3 separate regions of the Homo sapiens genome follow, and all the other regions are linked to region 1. The links are contacts of gene promoters, found by promoter capture Hi-C in blood cells and fetal thymus (Javierre and others, 2016). All regions are on one chromosome and are shown on one strand. Each heading gives the region's core, a stretch centred on a gene start or on the middle of the fragment in contact. The rest is flanking DNA. Distances are from core to core; before and after follow the strand shown.

What was found. Contacts are between HindIII fragments. The CHiCAGO score rates a contact against its expected background, and 5 or more counts as called.
Region 2: a contact is called between the fragment with the promoter of ANKRD13D here and the fragment with the promoter of PC in region 1, in 8 of 17 cell types (fetal thymus, erythroblasts, total B cells and 5 more). The highest score is 9.8, in fetal thymus.
Region 3: a fragment that was not itself captured here is called in contact with the fragment with the promoter of PC in region 1 in 1 of 17 cell types (endothelial precursors); the score reaches 6.0 in endothelial precursors.

The regions. Positions count from the first base shown.
Region 1 is chr11:66,956,678-66,960,740 of GRCh38, reverse strand. It overlaps PC (pyruvate carboxylase), which reads left to right and starts at 2,358. Exons shown (of 23, transcript NM_001040716.2): 1 at 2,358-2,419. RefSeq lists silencers at 1,921-2,280, 2,601-2,700 and enhancers at 2,351-2,400, 3,564-3,943. The HindIII fragment of the contact is 4,821 bases long and covers 1,598-4,063 here.
Region 2 is chr11:67,287,629-67,291,691 of GRCh38, reverse strand. ANKRD13D (ankyrin repeat domain 13D) reads right to left here and starts at 2,389. Exons shown (of 15, transcript NM_207354.3): 1 at 2,142-2,389; 2 at 1,479-1,614; 3 at 1,246-1,370; 4 at 171-216; 5 at 1-89. The coding sequence starts at 2,231. RefSeq lists enhancers at 192-1,114, 1,115-2,039, 3,274-3,483 and silencers at 2,034-2,803, 2,984-3,053. The HindIII fragment of the contact is 22,420 bases long and covers 1-4,063 here.
Region 3 is chr11:66,691,141-66,695,203 of GRCh38, reverse strand. It overlaps SPTBN2 (spectrin beta, non-erythrocytic 2), which reads left to right. Exons shown (of 38, transcript NM_006946.4): 22 at 841-1,065; 23 at 1,343-1,432; 24 at 1,758-2,018; 25 at 2,104-2,234; 26 at 2,464-2,668; 27 at 3,546-3,920. Among named protein-coding and RNA genes, the nearest start is that of RBM4B, 15 kb to the right of the region's middle. RefSeq lists an enhancer at 1-387. The HindIII fragment of the contact is 9,386 bases long and covers 1-4,063 here.

The DNA.
Region 1 (4,063 bases), core at 1,109-3,608:
AGTAGAGACGAGGTTTCACCATATTGGCCAGGCTGGTCTTGAACTCCTGACCTTGTGATCTGCTGCCTCGGCCTCCCAAAGTGCTGGGATTACAAGTGTGAGCCACGGAGCCCGGCCCCATTTTTTAATTTTTAAAAGACAGAGATGAGGTCTTAGTGTGTTGCCAATGCTGGTCTCAAATTCCTGGGCTCAAGTATTCCTCCCTACTCAGCCTCCCAAAGGTGAACTGGGATCTTAATCCTTGTTCTGTTACTAAAATAGCTGTGTCGGATCCAACCCAAGGTTGGAGTTCTTCAGGACGGGTAGAAGGAATGACAGGGAAGTTGGAGTGAGAAACTACTTATACAAGAAGTCTGAGAGAAGAGTCAGATCTCTCCAGGCTCAATAAACAATTTCTAGTTAGCAAGATGTTCTCATAGTCTTTGATTCTCCTTTTTGGAAGCAGGTTATTTTTTCTCTTTGCCCTTATCACCATCTGATGTACTATGTATTAATCTGGGCCGGGCGCGGTGGCTCACGCCTATAATCCCAGCACTTTGGGAGGCCGAGGCGGGTGGATCATGAGGTCAGGAGATCGAGACCATCCTGGCTAACAAGGTGAAACCCCGTCTCTACTAAAAATACAAAAAATTAGCCGGGCGCGGTGGCGGGCGCCTGTAGTCCCAGCTACTCAGGAGGCTGAGGCAGGAGAATGGCGTGAACCCGGGAAGCGGAGCTTGCAGTGAGCCGAGATTGCGCCACTGCAGTCCGCAGTCCGGCCTGGGCGACAGAGCGAGACTCCGTCTCAAAAAAAAAAAAAAAAAAATATATATATATATATATATATTAATCTGTCTGCTCTCCTTTGAAGGCAGGATTTTGGTTTGTTTGGTCACTCCCTTATCCCCTGGTTGGCACAGACCCCAGTTTACGCAGCGGTGAATGAAAGTAAAAATCTCGGGACCCCCCCCCAGCGCCCCAATTCATGCGAAAGTGAAGATTAAGCCTTGAAGCTGAGTCACTGCAACACCCTCTTCCAAAAGAATAGCTGTTACTAGCATTAGGCATCAGCCATATCCACACGGAAAGGTAAAAACCTCAGGCATTTGGGAAGGGCTGCCCCCACAGATCATTCACAAGTAAATTCTTGCTGGCCTCCCATAAACAAGGACAGGTCAATTGTAGCTTCAGGTCTACAATCTAAGTCTAGCTCCTAAAAATTCCACAATAAGAATGTCATTACAAGCTTATTTTCCCAGGTGCAGAACAAAGTCAAAACTACCTACTCAGAGACATCTGCATAACTGACTCTTCCTTTACTCTCTTTTTCTCTTCAGACATTCATCTCATCTTACGTAGATTTACCGGGCATTAGCTAAAGTCCCATAGGAATGTAACTATTGTCCTAATCGCCTACTTGCCCTTCTTCCTACATGCCTTCCCCTCATTCCCCCTTTAAGGAAATGCATAAATACTAAACCTCCCGAAAACCTCTTCGGAAAAACAACCACGGATGTGTCTGTGGTTCGTGTTTTTCCCGAGCACGCCCTCAAACTGGATTAATAAGCCTCGATGACAGAGACTTATGCCTCAGTCACTTGTTCCACTTGTCAAAGCTTTCCTCTTTGACAAGTGTCTTGGGTCTTGTCAAGTGTCTTGTGTCTCAAACAAGGCTTCCAAACCCCCTAGGTCCTGAGTAGCTTCGCTCTGCAGATGACAAAACCGAGACTCAGAGGTTAAGTTGCTTGCCCAAGGTCACACAGACGTACTGTAGACCCCCATCATCATCTACGCAGCTGTTAAAGGACATAGTCATGTAACCCGTGTGGCACAAGCGCCTTCTCCTTCCTCCTGCCCTTCGCTAACGTTAGCTTTTCCTGCGACCTCTTCTCCGCTAGCCAGCGCGTATCTGCGTCTAGCCGGGATGCCTGAGCCCCAGTGCGAACTGTTGTGCTTGCAGCTTCGGGAGACACGTGCTACTCGGGTGAATGAATCGAACGTCCCCACCCCCGCCGACAGCCAATAACTGCGAGCCACAGCCCGGCCACTTCCGCCTATTGCGGGCGTCGGCTAGGGTCCGGCGGCCCACGTGAGGCTCCGGAGACAAGGGAGTAGGCGGTGGTGCGCCAGGGGCGGGCTCTCCCAGCCTCGCCACTTATCCAGGCGCTCGCCGGGGACGGGAGGGGCGGGGCTGACGTGGGGCGCCAAGGCTTAAACGTGACGGACAGGCGGGCACAGGGAGGAGTCCAGAGCCTAGGGGCGAGGAGTGACGGAGAACACTGCCCAATAACGGGAGGGGTTGGGCTGTCTGGGCCAATAGGAAGTCCGTAAGGCGGGGCCGGGACTGCAGCAAGTTCGGTTGCACGGAGACCGCAGCTGTTCTCTGTCAGTGGAGGCAGCAGCGGTAGAGGCGGCGGCGAGGACTGGCGACGGCGAGGAGGTGAGTGTCCGCCGCGCTCCGCACGGTCCTCTTCCCGCGGCGGGTCGGAGCGGGTGGACGTGCGCCGGCACCGCTGCGAGGGACGCTTATGTAAGGGTCGCGCGCGCAAAGGCGGCGCGGGCTCCGCGAGTGACGGCTGGAGGAGACAGCGACGGGCTGTGCGCGGTGCGCGACGCGACGCAGCGGACGGCGCCCCTCCCCCTCGCGCGGGGGCTCGGCCGGCTGGACCCGCCCCCGGACCCGCCCCCGGCTGCAGCCCCCGAGCGCCCCTCCGCAGCGTCCGCCTGCGGGCTGCCTCATTCTTGCTCTCGGGCCCATTTTGCAGATGGAGAAACTGACTAAAGCGCCTCGCGCGAGGTCCCTGAGGGTTCGAACCCAAGTCTGTCAGGATCGGGAGCCCAAGTTGTCCCCATCGTACTGGATGTGGCTCAGCTCTGCAGGAAGCCGCGGCGTGTAAGGCGAGGGCTTTCCTTGTTCCTTGCTCTCGCACTCCGCCTCCCGTAGGATCCTCTACTTTGTTTCAGACGGGGAAGCTCCAGGCGCCCAGACGCAGTGATTCGCCCAAGGCCGCTCATTCAGGAGGTGGGGCTGGGCTCAGCCCCTTATTTCTCCAGCTTTTAGTAGTTTACAAAGCGCATCAGAGTCGGAAGCCAAGTCCCTAGGTCCCTGGCAACTTTGAGATTCTTTTGTTTTCTTTTCTTTTTTAGACAGGGTCTTGCTGTCACCCACCCAGGCTGGAGTGCAGTGGCGCGATCTCGGCTCACTGCAGTCTCGACCTCCCGGGCTCAAGCGACCCTCCTGCCACAGTCCCCCAGTGCTGGGACTACAGGCGGGCGCCACCACGCCTAGCTAATTTTTGTATTTTTTGGTAGAGACGAGGTTCCGTCATGTTGCCCAGGCTGGTCTCGAACTCCTACGCTCAAGCGAGCGGCCTGCCCTGGCTTCCCAAAGTGCTGAGATTACAGGCGTGCCTCGTCTGAAATTCTAAAAAATCAGATTGTGTCTTTATTTTGTGAGAAGAGGTAGGCCTGGGCTCCTTACCCGTTCTCCAGCTGAGAAAACAGGCTCAGAGAAGTACCAACACTTGCTGATGACAACCAGAACCTCCAGAGTGCCTGCCATCTGCCTCCCTATTGCTCCCGTACCCACTGCCACCATCAGCCCTGGCTGGCCTCCCCCAAGGCACCCTTTCCCTGTATGTGATGCAAACACTTGTGCTGGGGGTGGATGTGCTCAGCATTTCTCTCACTTGCAGCTACAGCTTCCTGCCTGCAGGCTCTCCTTAACTGTTGAACTCTTAATCACATTCTTTTGCACACCTACAGTGTTCCTATCCCTACACTGGGCCGAGAGACAGCGTGGGCGATGAGGTCAATCCTTGTCCTGCAACTGCTGACAAACCCATTGGGGGAGAGAGAAAATAAACAAAACCTAAGCAGCAAGGCAGCCTGCTGCAGATGTTTGTAGAGAGCCTAGTGGGTGAGGTATTGGCCCTAGGAGGACATGGAAGAGGAAGTTCAGTAGAGGCCAGTAAATCACAGCAAACCACACACTAAAGCGAGAGAGAGGAGAAATGGCCTGGAAGGGGATGGGCTTGGGAAGGCTTCGTGGAGGAGGTGAGTTGTGGACCTCTTTTTGATGCCG
Region 2 (4,063 bases), core at 1,140-3,639, 330 kb before region 1:
GCCCAGGAGACTGGTGTCTACTCGCAGGCTCTCACCCCGCTTCCACACGCGGTACACATCGCTTGGGCACATCTTAGACACAAGGGGCACTGCAGGGTGCACAGGGGTCACTGGGGGTCTTTCCAAAGGCCCCACCCCAAATCCCTGGGAGCCCAGAGGTCCCCACTCACCCCAGCTGGTGAACTCCCACTTCATCTCAACGTAGAAATCGGGGGCCTAAGAGAAACCAGAGCTGCTTGTCAGCGCCCTGCCTGCTGCTGGCTCCAGCAGGCCTGGGAGCCCCTTGTCCACAGCCAGCCCAGCCCTTCATCAGGTCTTTTTTTTTTTTTTTTTTTTTTTTGAGACTTGCTCTGTCACCCAGGCTGGAGTGTAGTGGTGCAATCTCGGCTCACTGCAACCTCTGCCTCCCTGGGCTCAGGTGATTCTTCCACCTCAGCCTCCCGAGTAGCTGGGACCACAGGTGTGTGCCACCACTCCCAGCTAATTTTTGTACTTTTTGTAGAGACGGCTTTCACCATGTTGCCCAGGCTGGTCTCCACCTCCTGGGCTCAAGTGATCCGCCCACTTTGGCCTCAGAAAGCGCTGGGATTACAGGAGTAAGCCACAACGCCTGGCCCTTCATCAAGTCTTGACGCACTGCTATGGCTCAGCTACGCCCAACCACTCTGCCCTGGAGAGGGTGGGCCAAGTGGGGCACTACAGTGGTCTTCAGACAATGAGGCTGTAAGCACCTGGAGGTGGAGGGCCAGCCTCAACCTGGCCATGAGCCTGTGCAGAGCCCTGGGGGAGCCTTTGTTTCCACTGGGTCTCAGAGTCCTACTCTGTAAAGGGGGCACAGTGGCTCCCTCCGAGCCTGCTCCTGGGGTAGGGGGTATGAGATAGTATGCTCTGCCAGCCAGGCCCCTCCGTGTGCTTCCAGAAGGGTGCGTAGTAGCAAGTATTCCAGGGTTTCAGGCCATAATCCACCGAGTCAACCTGAAGTCCCTGCTCCAGGTAATCTGCATTCTTCAGGAGGCCCAAAGCTGGCAAGGCTTCTCTTCCAAAGGGTCCAGTCTCTCCCACGTGAGCCTGGCCGTCTCTCTTTCCTACGTGACCCTGGGCTGGGGTCAAGATAGACAGACCTCCTTGCTGGTGGCAGGAGGCACACTGCACAAACTGGGTGCCTTTCCAAGGCCAGGCCTGGCACAGTAACCAGGGTGGTGCCCTGCCATGGTACCCCACCTCCATAACTGTGCCCTGCTGTACCTGGCGAAGTTTGTTGAGCAGTTCCGGAATGCCCGCCAGCCTCTGCGTGGCCCTCTGGTAGTCCCGATACTGGAGCACCAGCTGCACCATCTCGGGGTCTCCAGTGCTGACTGCCTCCTGCAGGACTGCGGGCACCAGGCTGCTGAGGGGAGCCCTCCAGATGACCCCAGGCCTGGCTGCTCACTGCCCCCCGCCTGCCAGCCTCAGGGGGAGCCCCTTGTCCTCTGCAGTACCTGCCCAGCCCTGGCGGTTCTCTTTGCCCACGTTGGCATTGTGTCGAAGGAGCACTCTCACAGACTCCAGGTTTCCCAGAGACACGGCCAGCTCCAGTGGGGTCCGCCCGCGGGGGTCCTCCTGTTCAATGTCGTGCTGGGGGAGACGGGACACTCACAAAGGGCAGGAGAGAAGAGGGCAAGGCAGGGAGGCTGCCAGGGCGAGCAGGGTTGGGAATCGCTGTGGGAAATAAGGACGGCGGACTGACCAGGGAGATGGCAGAGGGTGGCCTGCGTGTCCTGGCAGGGGAGAGGAGGGGGCAGGAGGGAAGGCAGGGGCAGAGCCGGGGTCTGGCGGCGGGGCCTGGTCAGGCAGAGCTGCAGGTTGTCAGGAGTTTGGCGGAACCTGGGGACCAGGACCAGAGTTCTTGTTCTCAGCTTGGGTCAGCAAGGATGCGGAAGCGAGTTCGGGCGAGCAGGGCAAGGCCCAGCGCAGGGGAGAGGAGGCCAGAGGCTCAGGCGCGAGGGGCCGGTGACCTGGGCTTGGGATCGTGCAGGGGAGGAAGGCCCAGGATGTGGCTGCGGAGCTGAGCGGGCGGGGGGGGGGGGGGGGCTCCAGGACGGAGGCCACAGCCTTGGGTGGGGGACCCGGGGGAAGGGCCGGGTGCCCCAGCGGGGCCTCACCTGGTGGCTGTGCAGTGCGGCCTCCAGTTCGCGATGCCGGTTCGCCCAGACGAGCCGGTGCAGCGGGAAGGTGGGGCCCGGGCCGGCCATGCTGGGCCTCAGCGCCGCATCCCGGCCCCGCCTCGGCTTCGGGCCTGGCACGGCCCCCTAGCCTCCCCTCCGAGCCGCGCCCCAGCTGCGCCCCCCGCGGCCCCCGCAGCAGTAGCGGCGGCGGCGGCGGCGGCGGCAGCGCGGGCGGCAGGGAGGGCGGGGCGGGCGGCGGAGCGGGCGGGGCTGCGCCGGGCCGGGGCGGGGCTTCGCGCGCGCCCCCGTCCCCCCGCAACCATGGCAACCGCGGCCAGGCCAGCGCGCGGCAGAGCAACCGCGAGCGCCCGAGGAGATGCCCGGCCTTGGGTCTGCGCCCCGACCTCGGTCGGGCCCGGGTCCGCTGGGGCGGCCTGGAGGGCGGTGCCCGGTTACAGCTCCGCCCGCGGCCCGCAGGAGGCGCCCCGAGCCCTGCGCAGACCCCCGGAGCCGGGTCCGGAAGAGGAAGGCGGGGCCGGAGGGGGCGGGCACTGGGCCCCTCGGTAGTGCACGCGCGTGCGCGGCGGGCCGCGGTCCTGCTGCAGCCGTGATGCCTGCGTTTCCCCCGCGGATCCCCTTGCTCGCCCCGGTCTTCCTACCCCAGGTCCCGCGGTCACCGACTCTGCTGGGGTGTGCGGGTGAAGTGGGGCGCCCCGGCTCCCCTCACCCGGCCTGGAGACGAGCAACGAGCAGACGCCACTAAGTGCTTGCCGGCTGAGCGGGAAGCACCTTCCCCTGGGACCTGGCCGGTGTCTGCAGGCCCAGCGATGCGGGGAGGCGGCCCCCGGGGCCCTGAAGTCAGGGATAGGAGTTCGGGGAGAGAGGGGCGCAGGCCCAGGCAGCGGCAGAGCCGTCCCGGCGGAGGACCGCCCGCGGCGAACGGCTGCCTTCGCCCGCCGCACGAGTCCCTTTTGCAGAGGCTGCGGTTGGCTGCCAGCGTCAGGAGAGGAAGGCGAGTTTCGAAATCAGGGCCGGCCCCTCCACCCACACCGGAACTAGGGTGCAGGCCTCCGTCAGCTCAGTTCCGGCCCTTGATTACTGGAGGCCCAGCCTGGGGTCTGGGGCCCTGGTTTTGCTAGGTGGCCAAGGCTGACCCTCTATTCTCCCTTTCCCTACGTGGAACATGATTGAGGAGGGCCAGCTAGCTTGAGCATCACTTCCTGCTGTAGGGCGTCCTCAGTTCTGAGACTCTGGGCTGGAAGGCCTGATTGCCATTTTTACCCTGCCTTCTCCCTGTAGTCACATGGCGCCTGTGCCATCTGGGGTCACTTTGCCACCCCACGCTATGGTGTCAATCTGTGAGGTCCTGGGGTTGGTAGCAGCCCGAAGGCTTCTGAATGCCCAGAGCTCACCTGCTCACCACTACTGCAGCCCTCCCTGGCCACCCCTTTTCTCAGAGGCGGTCCCTTCCCTGAGCCCTCTCCAAACTCAACCCCGACAGGACTTTCTTGGTTCCAGCCTCTCCTGATTTCTGCCATCTTGAACACAGCTCCCCACTGGCACTTAATTCCATGACAGTGCCTTCTCAACCCTCTTCCACGGCCTCCTCTCTCTCCCTGACCCCCACATCCCTGGGAGAGAGACTGTCCGTTCCCATTGTCACCCTGATGCCACCCCCAGGTCCACATTTCAGCTTACTCCAGGACATCTCTGTGCCCAGGGATCCCATGCTATCCCATCAGTATGTCCGAAGCCAACCCAACCACACCTACCCTCTTCCCCAGACTCCCGCCTCACTCAGCCCCAAGTCCAGCCTGTTTCTGCTGGACCACGTTCTTCCCGTCTGGCCTCTTTTCATCTCTTCCTCTCCCACTGCGGAGGTTTGTCTCCCTGCCTCCTGTCCTTCACCTCCCTCCCCA
Region 3 (4,063 bases), core at 602-3,101, 270 kb after region 1:
TTGCTGGTCCCTGCTCTGAAGAATGCAGAATGGGAAGTGTAGGGAGCAGCTGACACCTCTGGGGTTGAGGAGTCCCCCAGGAAGGAGCAAGATGGCTGAGTCTCAGACCTCCTTGGAGAGGGCGGAGGCCCACTGAATGGCCTGGAAATTTGCTGGGGTATCACAGGCCAGAGCATGTCTGAAGCCAGCAAGCCAAGGCTGGCCAGCAGGAAGTGGCCACTAGAGTGCAGCAAAACTTGCCAGAGAGTAAGAGCCACCGGATCTCTTGCGCACTGTGGACAGTTTTGCTGTAGGAGGAAGAAAAGCACCTTGGAACCGTGGAATGCCCCACATCTGCTAGGCATTGTGGTGTCCCTCCAGCGCCCTCTGCTGACAAGGCCTAGATTGTGCCTGCTGGCAAAGGAGGAATGTTTCCAGGGGCCAGTTCCAGTGTCTCAAAGCAGGGCCACGATGGATTGGGGATGGAGAGACAATGAATTGATAATGGGCACAGTTATCACACTACCCTGGATTTTTTAATTTCAATCTTTTAGATTCGCGGGTGTGGGTGCAGGTTTGTTATAAGTTATATTGTGTGATGCTGAAGTTTGGGGTGTAATTGAACCCATCACCCATGTAGTGAGCACAGTACCCAATAGGGATTTTTTCAACCCCTGCCCTTGGATTCTTGTGCATATAAAGTTCGAGATCCACTGATCCAGCCCATGAGGGGATGCTCTCCCTGGGTGAGCTGCAGTGATGAGCAGCCACAGTGGGCTGGATAGAGACTGGTTGGTGTCTCTGCTGGGCATGAAGGCGGAAATGCAGAGCTAACATGTCCTTCCTCCTGGCGGTTTGCAGATGCTGGAATGGGAGATGGCTGTGAGAGAGAAGGAGGTGGAGGCAATCCAGGCCCAGGCCAAAGCACTGGCCCAGGAGGACCAGGGTGCAGGGGAGGTGGAGAGAACCTCGAGGGCCGTGGAGGAGAAGTTCAGGGCCTTGTGCCAGCCCATGCGGGAACGCTGCCGGCGCCTGCAGGCTTCTCGCGAGCAGCACCAGTTCCACCGCGATGTGGAAGATGAGATTGTGAGTCACTGGGGCCAAGGACGGCAAGCTGCCCCCAGCCATGTGGTTCTCCAGCCTCCCTCCTGGATGCCAGGGAGATGCCAGCAGGGCTCTATTCCCTCTTCTCTTTGGCATTGACCATCTCCCCTATAGGGAGACTTGGAGATGCCTCCCAGAACCAGAGATGACTGTTCCCCACACACAGGGCGGTAGCCCCAGGTGTCCCCACTCCCACTAATCAGTCCCTGCTGCTTGCCTTGCCCTCTGGGCCTCCACTGACCCCCTCTTCCTCTTCCAGTTGTGGGTGACAGAGCGGCTGCCCATGGCCAGCTCCATGGAGCATGGCAAGGACCTGCCCAGCGTCCAGCTTCTCATGAAGAAAAACCAGGTGAGGCAGAGGCTGAAGGCAAAAGAGAAGTTCCCAGGAGCCTGCCCAGACTTGGACGTGTTTTTTCTTAAGACCAGGCCCCCCTCGATGCTGAGTGTAACCCTGGACTTCAGTGGCTGTCTTTCCTCACCTTGGGAGGGTGGGTCCTCTCAGTAGGAGATAGTGGGGGCTGGGCGGCTGACGGGTGTTACCATCGCACCCCCAGGCTAGGAGAGGGAGCAGAGGACCCAGGAAGGAGAGAGGCACAGGGGTGAAGGGTGGTCTCCGGGAGCACGTGGGGCTGGGGCAGGACTTTCAGCATTTTCTCTTCTGTGGCCATGGGCAGACCCTGCAGAAAGAGATTCAGGGCCATGAGCCCCGGATCGCGGACCTGAGGGAGCGGCAGCGTGCTCTAGGTGCAGCAGCAGCAGGTCCAGAGCTGGCTGAGCTGCAGGAAATGTGGAAACGCCTGGGCCACGAGCTGGAACTTCGAGGGAAGCGACTGGAGGATGCCCTGCGAGCCCAGCAGTTCTACCGCGATGCCGCCGAGGCGGAGGCCTGGATGGGCGAGCAGGAATTACACATGATGGGCCAGGAGAAGGCCAAGGTGAGGGCCAGGACAGAGCCCAGTGTATGTGACCAGTTCTGCCCTCCCCTGACCTGATGCTGGATGCCACTGTCCCTTCCCCCAGGATGAGCTGAGTGCCCAGGCAGAGGTGAAGAAGCACCAGGTGCTGGAGCAAGCCCTGGCCGACTACGCGCAGACCATCCACCAGCTGGCGGCCAGCAGCCAGGACATGATTGACCACGAGCACCCAGAGAGGTGGGTGCAGCGGCAGCCCGGCCCAGCCTGGGGGTGGAGCCGGCTGCAGGAACAGGAAGGTGCAGGGAATGTGGAGCCTTCAGTGCTGTGTGCACGGAGCCTTCTAGAAAGCTGGAACACAGGGTGGGCGAGCTGTTGGGAGACTCAGAGGGACAGGGCTCCACAGAACAGACCGGAGGTCAGAGCTACACCCCTAAGTCCCACAGTGCCTCCCTCACTCTTCTTGCAGCACTCGGATATCCATCCGCCAAGCCCAGGTGGACAAGCTGTATGCCGGCCTGAAGGAGCTGGCTGGAGAGCGGCGGGAGCGCCTGCAGGAGCACCTCCGGCTGTGCCAGCTCCGCCGCGAGCTGGATGACCTGGAACAGTGGATCCAGGAGCGCGAGGTGGTGGCGGCCTCCCACGAGCTGGGCCAGGACTACGAGCATGTGACTGTGAGTGTAGGGAGGGCACCCAGCTCAGATCAACCGTGGGAAGAGTGGAGGACCCACAGGGAGACTAGGACCTAGTCCCAGGCAGAGCACTGAGGGGCTAAGGGGCAAGACCAGGCTGAGCAGGCACTGTCCTCCTGGTTTTGAGGTATATGATTTGAAGAGGCCGGGCATAGGCTCACACCTGTAATCCTAGCACCTTGGGAGGCTGAGATGGGAGGATTGCTTGAGTCCAGGAGTTCAAGACCAGCCTGGGCAACATAGTGAGACCCCCCATCTCTACAAAAAAAATTTTTTTTTATTAGCCAGGCACAGCCGTGCATGCCTGTAGGCCCAACTACTTAGGAGGCTGAGGTGGGAGGATCTCTTGAGCCTGGGAGGTCGACACTGCAGTGATTGCGCTAGTGCACTCCAGAGCAAGACCCTATCATCTCTAAATACATACACACACACACAATTTGAAGAATTGTACAGAAAGGGGACATGAAGCTGAGCTGAGACAAGGGCAAACAGGAAATTATCACTCACACTTTTCAACAGAATTCAACAAAACGGAGTATGATCCACCCCCCCGACAGTTTGGGGGCTTGGACCCTCAGTCGTACAGAAATATGGACCATAGTTAGGGTATCCTTGTCTGAAGCCTAAGGGTCCCAAGCACCTTGAAACGCCTTTGCTGGGGGTGGAGGGAGTCTGTCAAATACAGGGTCAGTGGGAAGCAGCTGCACCTACTCCTTAACCACAGGGAAGAAACCTGTCCCGGCCCCCATGCAGCGGGGAGAGGTGGGTTCTGAGTTTGGAGTGGAGGACTCGCTCCATCAGGCAGGGACCACATCCCCTAACATCACGGCATGGTCTGTCCATCTGCTTCCTCTACCAGATGCTCCGAGACAAATTCCGAGAGTTCTCCCGGGACACAAGCACCATCGGTCAGGAGCGCGTAGATAGCGCCAATGCGCTGGCCAATGGGCTCATTGCTGGGGGCCATGCTGCACGGGCCACCGTGGCCGAGTGGAAGGACAGTCTCAACGAGGCCTGGGCTGACCTGCTTGAGCTGCTGGACACACGGGGTCAGGTGCTGGCCGCGGCGTACGAGCTGCAGCGCTTCCTGCACGGGGCACGCCAAGCCCTGGCGCGGGTGCAGCACAAGCAGCAGCAGCTTCCGGACGGGACTGGCCGCGACCTCAACGCTGCCGAGGCCCTGCAGCGCCGACACTGTGCCTACGAGCATGACATTCAGGCCCTCAGCCCCCAGGTCTGACCCAAGCATGAGGAGGTGGGGGAGGCTTAGAGGAGGCCATGGGGGAAATGCCGGGGAGAGTTCCCAGGAGCTAGGGTAGAGCTCAGAAATGCTGGGAGGACGGCACTCTTTCGAGGGCCATTTCGAGATGAGGAAAT